Regions from separate parts of the Homo sapiens genome. Here regions 1 and 2 are each linked to region 3. Evidence: promoter capture Hi-C in 16 types of primary human blood cells and fetal thymus (Javierre and others, 2016). All regions are on one chromosome and are shown on one strand. The core of a region is centred on a gene start or on the middle of the fragment in contact, and the rest is flanking DNA. Distances in the headings are between cores, read along the strand shown.

The links. Contacts are between HindIII fragments. The CHiCAGO score rates a contact against its expected background, and 5 or more counts as called.
Region 1: a contact is called between a fragment that was not itself captured here and the fragment with the promoter of APOH in region 3, in 1 of 17 cell types (M2 macrophages). The highest score is 5.4, in M2 macrophages.
Region 2: a fragment that was not itself captured here is called in contact with the fragment with the promoter of APOH in region 3 in 1 of 17 cell types (M2 macrophages); the score reaches 5.0 in M2 macrophages.

What each region holds. Positions count from the first base shown.
Region 1 is chr17:65,239,815-65,242,781 of GRCh38, forward strand. No RefSeq gene overlaps it. Among named protein-coding and RNA genes, the nearest start is that of RGS9, 100 kb to the left of the region's middle. The HindIII fragment of the contact is 1,544 bases long and covers 759-2,302 here.
Region 2 is chr17:66,871,467-66,874,229 of GRCh38, forward strand. The region is part of intron 1 of CACNG5 (calcium voltage-gated channel auxiliary subunit gamma 5); the gene reads left to right. Among named protein-coding and RNA genes, the nearest start is that of CACNG5, 38 kb to the left of the region's middle. The HindIII fragment of the contact is 1,447 bases long and covers 611-2,057 here.
Region 3 is chr17:66,228,102-66,231,301 of GRCh38, forward strand. It overlaps APOH (apolipoprotein H), which reads right to left and starts at 1,314. Exons shown (of 8, transcript NM_000042.3): 1 at 1,215-1,314; 2 at 1-95. The coding sequence starts at 1,278. The HindIII fragment of the contact is 12,618 bases long and covers 1-2,393 here.

The sequences.
Region 1 (2,967 bases), core at 281-2,780, 990 kb before region 3:
TCCAAGGTAGTGTTGAAGCAAAGAGGAACCTTGAGAGAGTCTTGCTGGCCCCAGAATGTGGCTCTGTGTGTGTGTATTGGGCTAGTGTGTAGAAAGCATTCGTTCCTTTGATGAACATGTAGCAGAAAAGGTCAGAAACATAAGAAAATAATCACAGAACACTTACATTTGATAAATGAAAAATAACATGTTAAAATATGATCCCATATAAAATGAGAAGGCACTGAATGAAGGAGACAACTACTTCAGTAAGGAGCTGAAATAAAGTATTTTCTGGGATGATCGTGTCCTTGGAAGACTAGGAGTCAGTGTTCAGGGACAAAGAAAGAGCAGTGCCTATTTCAAGCTGTAGGGAAATCTGGGCACCTATTCAGGAACTGTTATGGCTGGCTCTGTGTCTCCACCCAAATCTCATGTTGGATTGTAATTTCCAATGTCAGGGGAGGGACCTGATGGGAGGTGATTGGATCATGGTGGTGGATTTTTCCCTTGCTGTTCTTGTGATAGTGAGTGAGCTCTCACAACATCTGGTTGTTTAAAAGTGTGTAGCACCTCCAGCTTCATTTTCTTTCTCCTGCTCCCACCATGTAAGATGTGCTGGCTTTCCCTTTGCTTTCCACCATGATTGTAAGTTTCCTGAAGCCTCCGGTACAGCCTGCAGAACCATGAATCAATTAAACCTCTTTTCTTTATAAATTACCCAGTCTCGGGTAGTTCTTTATAGCAGTGTAAGAATGGACTAATACAGGAACACAACAAGCTTTTTATCCAGCAGCATCCACATACTTGACATACTTGACCCAAGTCGCAGGCTTCCATTGCATATGGGATTAGTTAGACATTAGAAAGACCTAGATGGCAGAGGTCTCTGCTTTTTTTGTAGAATGCGCAGTCCTGGTCCTTCCCTCTGCTAAACCTTAGTCTTTTCTCCCTATTCTTGGGCTTCTAGGCAAAGGGAATTTGAAGGATTGCAGTAACACAGTACTCTTGGGACTTCTGGCCAGTCTTCTGGGTAGGCCTTTGTCCCTGTGTCATGGTTCTTGAATTTTGTGTGTATGGCTCATTACCTTCATCTCAATATATTTCAACAATGGGAACTTCTGCGGGGCACAACTCATGTCCACAGCCTCGTCTATGTACAGAGCCCAAAGCAGCACCACTATCAGTTTGGGGTTTAGGGTGTTGAAGATGTTGAGTTGTCAGTTATTGAGTTAAAAATCTCCTGATTATATAGAAAATGTCCAGATATATCACTTTATCAATGGAGGCCAATATTGTGAATGAGTGGCCCTTTTATTATTTCACATTTATATCTCCCATTTAATCTCTAGCATTCTTGTTAAAACAGATAAAGTCCATGACTTCACAGCAGTCAGTGGCCTGGAATTTTGTCTTTTTAAAAAGATTTCTAGCTGGGCATGGTGGCTCACGCCTGTAATCCCAGCACTTTGGGAGGCCGAGGCGGGCGGATCACGAGATCACAAGTTCAAGACCAGCCTGACCAACATGGTGACACCCCGTTTCTACTAAAAAATACAAAAATTAGCCGGGTGTGGTGGTGTGCGCCTGTAATCCCAGCTACTCAGGAGGCTGAGGCAGGAGAATTGCTTGAACCTGGGAGGCGGAGGTTGCAGTGAGCAGAGATCACGCCATTACCCTCCAGCCTGGGCAACAGAGTGAGACTCCATCTCAAAAAAAAAAAATTTCTAAAGGTGATTTTACTGAAACACTAGTCGTGCTGGATTAGGGTGGGCCATAAGCCCAATGACCAGAGTCTTCATATGTAGTGGGAGGACAACACAGAGGCACACAAAGGTAAGAAGTTCATGTGAAGATGGAGGCAGAGATTGGAGTGAGGCAGCTGTAAGCTGTGGAACCCCAGGGATTGCTTGGAGCCATCAGAGGCTGGAAGAGGCAACAAAGGACCCTCCCCTAGCCTCAGAGGGAGCACAGCCCTGCCAAAACCTTGACTTTGGACTTGTAGCCTCCAGAACTAATAGAGAATTAATTTCCGTTGTTTTAAGCCACCTTGTTTGCGGTCCTTTGTTACAGCAGCTCTGGGGAATTCATAAGGTAGGCTTGTATCATAGTTCGATTATTCTCCTACAGATGAACATTGTTTCCAACTTTTCATCAAAACAAATGCTGTTGTAATGAACATCCTTGTACATTCCTCTGTGCGCATCTATAAGTATCTCCCTGGGATGGAAACCAAAGGCCAGGTATGGTGGCTTATGCCTGTAATCCCAGCACTTTGGGAGGCCAAAGTGGGAGGATTGCTTGAGCCCAGGAGTTGAAGATAAGCTTGGGCAACATAGGGGACCCTGTCTCTACACAAAATTTTTCAAAAATTAGCTGTGTGGTGGTGCATGCCTATAGCCCCAGCTACTTGGCAGGCTGAGGTGGGAGGATTGCTTGAGCCTGGGAGGTCGAGGCTGCAGTAAGCTTTGATTGCACCATTGTGCTCCAGTTCCAGCCTGAATGACAGAGTGAGAGCTTGTCTCAAAAAAAAAAAAAAAAAAAAAGGAAAAGAAAAGAAACTAAAAAGAGGAATCGCTGGGTTAGAGTATGCATATTTTAAGACCAATCTTCCATGCCAAATAGTCTTTTTAAAAAATTTATTTTATTATATTTGTTTGTAGAGACAGGGGTCTCCCTATGTTGGCCAGGATGGTCTCAAACTCCTGGGCTCAAGCAATCCTCCCACCTTGGCCTCTCAAAGTGCTGGGATTACAGGCATGAGCCACCATGCCTGGCCACCAAATCACCTTTTTAAAGTCTGTACTAATTTAGATTGCTACCAATAATGCATGTATGAGGATAATCATGCCCTTACATCCTAGCTGGAACTGTTAGGAACACTTTCACATTGTTGGTGCTAGCATTTACTGCAGCAGTGAGACCACGTGGGGCTGAGCACCACATTCTTCTGGAGGCCAAGAATGTTAGGGGCTCTGGTCCTCCTGC
Region 2 (2,763 bases), core at 84-2,583, 640 kb after region 3:
TCCTCTAACCTCACCTACCTCTGGGCACCTAAGCACTTCATTGCAAGTCCTTTTATTATTGGCTTGAGCAGGGGAATGTGCCATTAATGATTTAATCTCCACAAGACATTTCTCCCTAATTGCTAGTCATGGATGATAATTAGCGACTGTTAATTCCTGATAATTAACAAGCTAATACTTAGAGGTAATGGCGCCTGGGTAATCATCTTAAAAAGCTCCTGTTTCTACTAAAAATACAAAAAAATTAGCCGGGCGTGGTGGCAGGCACCTGTAGTCCCAGCTACTCAGGAGGCTGAGGCAGGAGAATGGCGTGCACCTGGGAGGCGGAGCTTGCAGTGAGCCAAGATCGCACCACGGCATTCCAGCCTGGGTGACAGAGCGAGACTCCATCTCAAAAAGAAACAAACAAACAAACAAAAAACTCAAGAAGGCTGCCTGCTTCTGGAACCCAGCCCTCAAAAGATGACACTACATGTTGCCATCTCCAGCCCAGGAGTTTAGCTGGAGCCCTGCACTTTTGTATACAAGGAGAGTGATTGGAGAATAGATCACTCTAATCTTTAATTTAGTTTTCTTCTCTGATTCTGGAAACAATACATGTTCTTTGAGAAGCTTTGTTGAGCACAGAGAAGTATTTTAAAAACCATGCATAACCTAATTACCTGGAAGCAGCCATCATCAACATTTTGGGTTATTTCTTTCCAGTCTGTGAATTTTGTATACGGTTGAGTTTAAGTTAAAAGTGTGATGTTGCATTCAACTTCATTAATTTACTATTATAGTGTAAACATTTTATCTTGTGATAGCAACTTATAAAAAATGGCTCCTCTCCTATAAGAAAAATCAAATGAACATGAGATTCATGGGATAGAGAAGGAACCATGTAAAAGCAGAAGCTCGAACAAGGGTCTAGGAATACAGTTCAGACTAGGGTGTCTTCAAGGGCCTTCCTGTCCCTACTGAAGACACTGGGTGAGAGAATATGTACACACATGCACAACTACGTAGAAAAAAAGACTAAAAGGCAATGAACTAAGATATTAATGATGATGGTGTTCTAAGAGTGGGAAAGTGCAGGTAATTTTCATTTTCTGTGTTATATAATTTTCTGCGCAATACAGAAGGAAAAAGCACTGGGTCAGGATCTAAACTATTGCTGGTGCACACTTTTATCTTTTCAAGTAACTGTTTGGGTTATCCCAGGCACTTCTCCCCTCTGGATCTTGATTTCCTGTGTGTGCTTTGAGGAAAGTATTAGTCCTGCCACCCCACTAGGTGGGTTTCAGAAGTAGAAATCCTGGGTCAGAGTGCACCTCCAAGAAGCTACCAGAAGATATGACTGGATGACTCCCAACAATATGCCCTATAGTATCAAACGAGAAGCCTTTATGTGACACTTGGCCACTTCTAAAGAAACATTTCTGAATACTGTGTCTCGTACATTTCTAGATAGCCTGAGTGACCTACTTTGGATTATTTTCCTTCTTCCCAACACTCTTTGAGCCCATATTTCTTCAGTAGCGAGATGATGTAGTCCAAGCATAGACTTTGGAGTTAGACCTGGGTTTAAAGCCAGCCTACGGCTCACCTGTGCTTTCCTGTAGGCTACTCCACATCTCTAACCCTGAGTTTCTCCATCCACAAAGTGGGGCTGATCCCACCTACTCACAGGGTTATCGTGAGGTCCTGATGAAACCCTGTACCTGAAGGATTTTGCACAGTGCCTGGGAGCTAAACCTACTCAGTCAATAATATGATTTATTTATAAATAAATAGGATTACATAATAGAAGCATAGATATAATTTTGTAATGAATAAGATTGCTATTTTCCACCCCAGGTAGCATTCCATAAATGTATTACATACTCTGGAAATAGATGAAACTTTTTGGTTTTCCTAGGTATATTCCAGGCTTTAGGATCTGCTATTGTAGAGTTTGGCAGGCAAGGTCACTTTCAGCCTCTTTTATTTCTCGCTTTTGTAGATTAAGATCCAATCTCCTCTCCACTTTCATCTTTCCAAATCTCCAAACATGAATCTTTTTCATCTCCCTGCCAAGCTTAACATTAAGATTGGCTGCTCAGCTTCGACCAGGCAACAGCAGTCGTGCTTCAGAAGCTCTGATCCATTCTCTCTGCAAGACTCAGGGGCTTAGTCCACTGTTGCTTAATAACAATACCTTATACCAGGATCATGCTTTAGACTTTTTTCAAAGCATAGTCATATCTGCTGTCGTGTTTAATCACACCAGCAATTTTGTGGAGTGAGCAAGGCAGGTCTTCCTATTCTTCCTGGCAGGCAGTGTGGTTCCCAAAGTGGGTTTCACAGAACATGATGTCTTTTTTTTTTCTTTGCTCAAATAAGTTTGGAAAATACAGAAATAAGCAAAGCTAAGCAGGCTTTTCAAAGCCTTTACCATAATGTGCAATGCGGTTCTTCAAGAGCTAGGTGCAGTGCTTCTCACAAGCTGTTTTTTTTTTTTTTTTCCTTTTAACCAGAGTCACTTTTTCTAGAATATTCCATGGAATTATTGCTCCATGGACCCCACTTTGGATAAACTCATGGGGTGGGAGTTTGAGAACGCAAGCCTTGAAAAAGGGCTTGGGAGTGGGGCAAGGTAAGGTTCAAATGCAGGCACCAACATTTGCCAGCTGAGTGCTCTTGTGCAAGCTTCTTAACCTCACTGATCATCAGTTTGCTCACCTGTAAAATGGGTGTGGTAATAGAATAGCCAGGATTAAAATGGGGAGTAAGGTGCTTAAC
Region 3 (3,200 bases), core at 64-2,563:
CGGCTTGCAGGAATACGTAATCTCTTCTCCTGGCTCATAGAATGTTTTTAACGGGACCACTGTGGAAAATGGTAAATCATCTGGCTTGGGACAGGCTGAAAGAGGGCACAAAGCAGATGGTTAACAAATCTCTATTTGCATTTTAAAGTTCAGCTAAGCCCACAAATGAAAAATGTGTGTACTGTTACCAATTATAAGCATACCAAGTTGCATGCCAAATACCTCATATACACTATCTCATCTAATCCCCTCAACAACCATTTGAAGGAGGTATTATAATTATCCCCATTTTACAGGTCAGTATGCTGAGGCTTAAATTGGCTACGTATCTTACAGAGGAGCTTTACACATGGCAATATTAAAGAATCAGTATCAATCCAGTCCCTCCAGCATCCACTCTAAAGAGAATTTAGTTATCAGCTGGGCGCAGTTGCTCACACCTGTAATCCCAGCACTTTGGGAGGCTGAGGCGGGTGGATCACGAGGTCAGGAGATAGAGACCAACCTGGCTAACACGGTGAAACCCCGTCTCTACTAAAAATACAAAAAATTAGCCGGGTGTGGTGGCGGGCGCCTGTGGTCCCAGCTACTCGGGAAGCTGAAGCAGGAGAATGGAGTGAACCCAGGAGGCGGAGCTTGCAGTGAGCCGAGATCGCACCACTGCACTTCAGCCTGGCGACAGAGCGAGACTCTGTCTCAAAAAAAAAAAAAAAGAATTTAATTATTCTTCTTCTTATTATTATTATTGTTGACTGAGTTTTGCTCTTGTTGCCCAGACTGGAGTGCAATGGGGGGACCTCGGCTCACTGCAACCTCTGCCTCCCAGGTTCAAGCAATTCTCCTGCCTCAGCCTCCCGAGTGGCTGGGATTACAGGCGCCTGCCATCACGCCCGGCTAATTTTTGTGTTTTTAGTAAAGACAGGGTTTCACTATGTTGCCCAGGCTGGGCTCGAATTCCTGACCTCAACTGATTCGCCCACCTCGGCCATGATGCCCAGCTAATTTTTGTATTTTTCATAAAGACGGGGTTTCACCATGTTGGCCAGACTGGTCTCGAACTCCTGACCTCAGGTGATCCACCTGCCTTGGCCTCCCAAAGTGCTGAGATTACAGATGTGAGCAAGCACGCCCGGCCTACTTATCATTATTGATCCCTGACATATACGAAGGGGTTGGATATATTAATTATTTTTTCAAAAGCAAAAAGTACTTACTCCGTCCTGCAATAGCAACATGGCAGAGAAAACTCGAGAACAAGATGAGCACTGGAGAAATCATTGTGGATGAGTCACACTGGCACTACCAAAGTGGTTTTCGTCTGCTAAAAAGACAGAGCCAAATATGAAAGCGCTTAAACATTAACCATTTTCTGGTGTACTTTTATCTTTGTAAATAGAAGATAAAGTATCATGATTTGAATGGAACTCTGAGACCCACATTCTTTAATCATTTACTTTCCACTTATGTGGCTCTGTTATGAAATCTTTGGGAGATGGTTTCTGTCTTCATAACGTTTTTGTTAATGGCACAAAACAGTTCATTATTGCTTTTGACAGAAACTTGTTGTTTCCGGGGTTGCCTGGACTTCTCATTCTCCATCTTTTGTTTTGTGTATGTTGTAGATGGAACACCAAAAGATCGAAGCTCCTGTTTCACTCACAGCCTTGGCATATAAACTTTGGACAAACACCTACTCTCTGTTCTCAGTCTCCACCTCTCTAAAATGATGTTCCAGTTTTCAGATGTATAATTACAAAGAATGTCTTCCAGGAGGCACTTACAACTTTAATTCCCTACAAACTGAGCTCAACATCCTCTCTTGCAAGCTCCTATAGCTCCAGTTAGGACCTTAGAGCTATCCTTGAATTCTCTATCTTCTCTTACGTCAGATCAATACAAAGTCCTCCTCATCCATTCTTAATATGTCTTGGATCTGTCTAGACAGGTTTCTAGATCTGTTTCAGGAATTTGAAAATTGATTTGAAATTAACAACTTGGGACTCGAAGAAGAAAAAAAAACTTGAGTAGGATAAGATAATGGGCCAGTGCTGATGTTGTTGCTTGAGAGGGTTCGGAAGGGGGGTTGTCTTTGATTCCCTAGTTCTCTTCTACATCATTTGCTCTAAAAAAAAAAAAAAGGATATATAAATGGACAATAGCCAGGCCATATGTGAAAACAGAACTCTGACCCACACATCTGTAGCAACAGGTCTAGAAAGCCAAACCTACAACCTCTATAGCAGTTGGCCCAACTTAAGGCCAACCAGAGAAATCCAAACATATTTCTCTAACCAATCACATGGACACCTCACTTCTAGTTAGTTTCCTTCCATCCTCCCCATACCAACAATCCGTTGGAGCACACCTGAAGCCTTTCCTTTTTTCTATTATAAAGCTTTCCCACTCCTCTGTCTGACTTTGACTTTGAGTCTCTGCCAAACACAACTGTTAATGGCTGCCTCCCTTCCTATAGCAAGCTCTGAATAAATAACCTCCGCTTGCTCTCATTTGGGTGATCTTGGTTTATATCCAGAGGTCTAAAATTCCCTGAGACACATCAGCTTGAGAAATCTCCATCTGTCAGGCAGATGATTCTTAAATTACGATCCTAATGAACATTGTGTTCCATGATAAGAAGAGTGTGCTGCCACTAATGTGAAATAACAGTGGTCCTTCCCTATTTGTCCTTCTAAGGGGAAGGAGATTCTTGTTCTCTGGATAATTCCCAGGTTCCGCTTTATTGTGGAGAATCTCCTTGATGAATGAAGAAGAAAGAAAACTAATGAAGTCAGGAGGAGCCAAGTCGTTCTGTATAGTAAGATCTGAAGTAGAAGGGGAAAAGGAGAGAGAAACCAAAGAGGTCGGGCATCAGTTAAAGAAAATTTGAGAAAAGGTTAAAATTGAGACGAGAATATTTTCAGCAACAGCTACAAACTGAGTGCCTGATATTGAGAGAGGACAAGGAGAAGGGTTTTTAATGATGTTTCCTGGTGGCTGGGCTCCCTTGCATTAGGAAACTTGGGGTAGGGGTGTCGAAATAGTTTATATTCTATTTTAGGTGGTTGTTACTTGGCTACATGCAATTTTCAAAAGCCATCAAGCCAAATATTTAAGATCTGTGTGTTTACTTGATTATACTTCAATTGGAAAACTATGCACTCCTTTCCTCCTTCTTCCCTCCCTCCCTTCTTCCTTCCCTC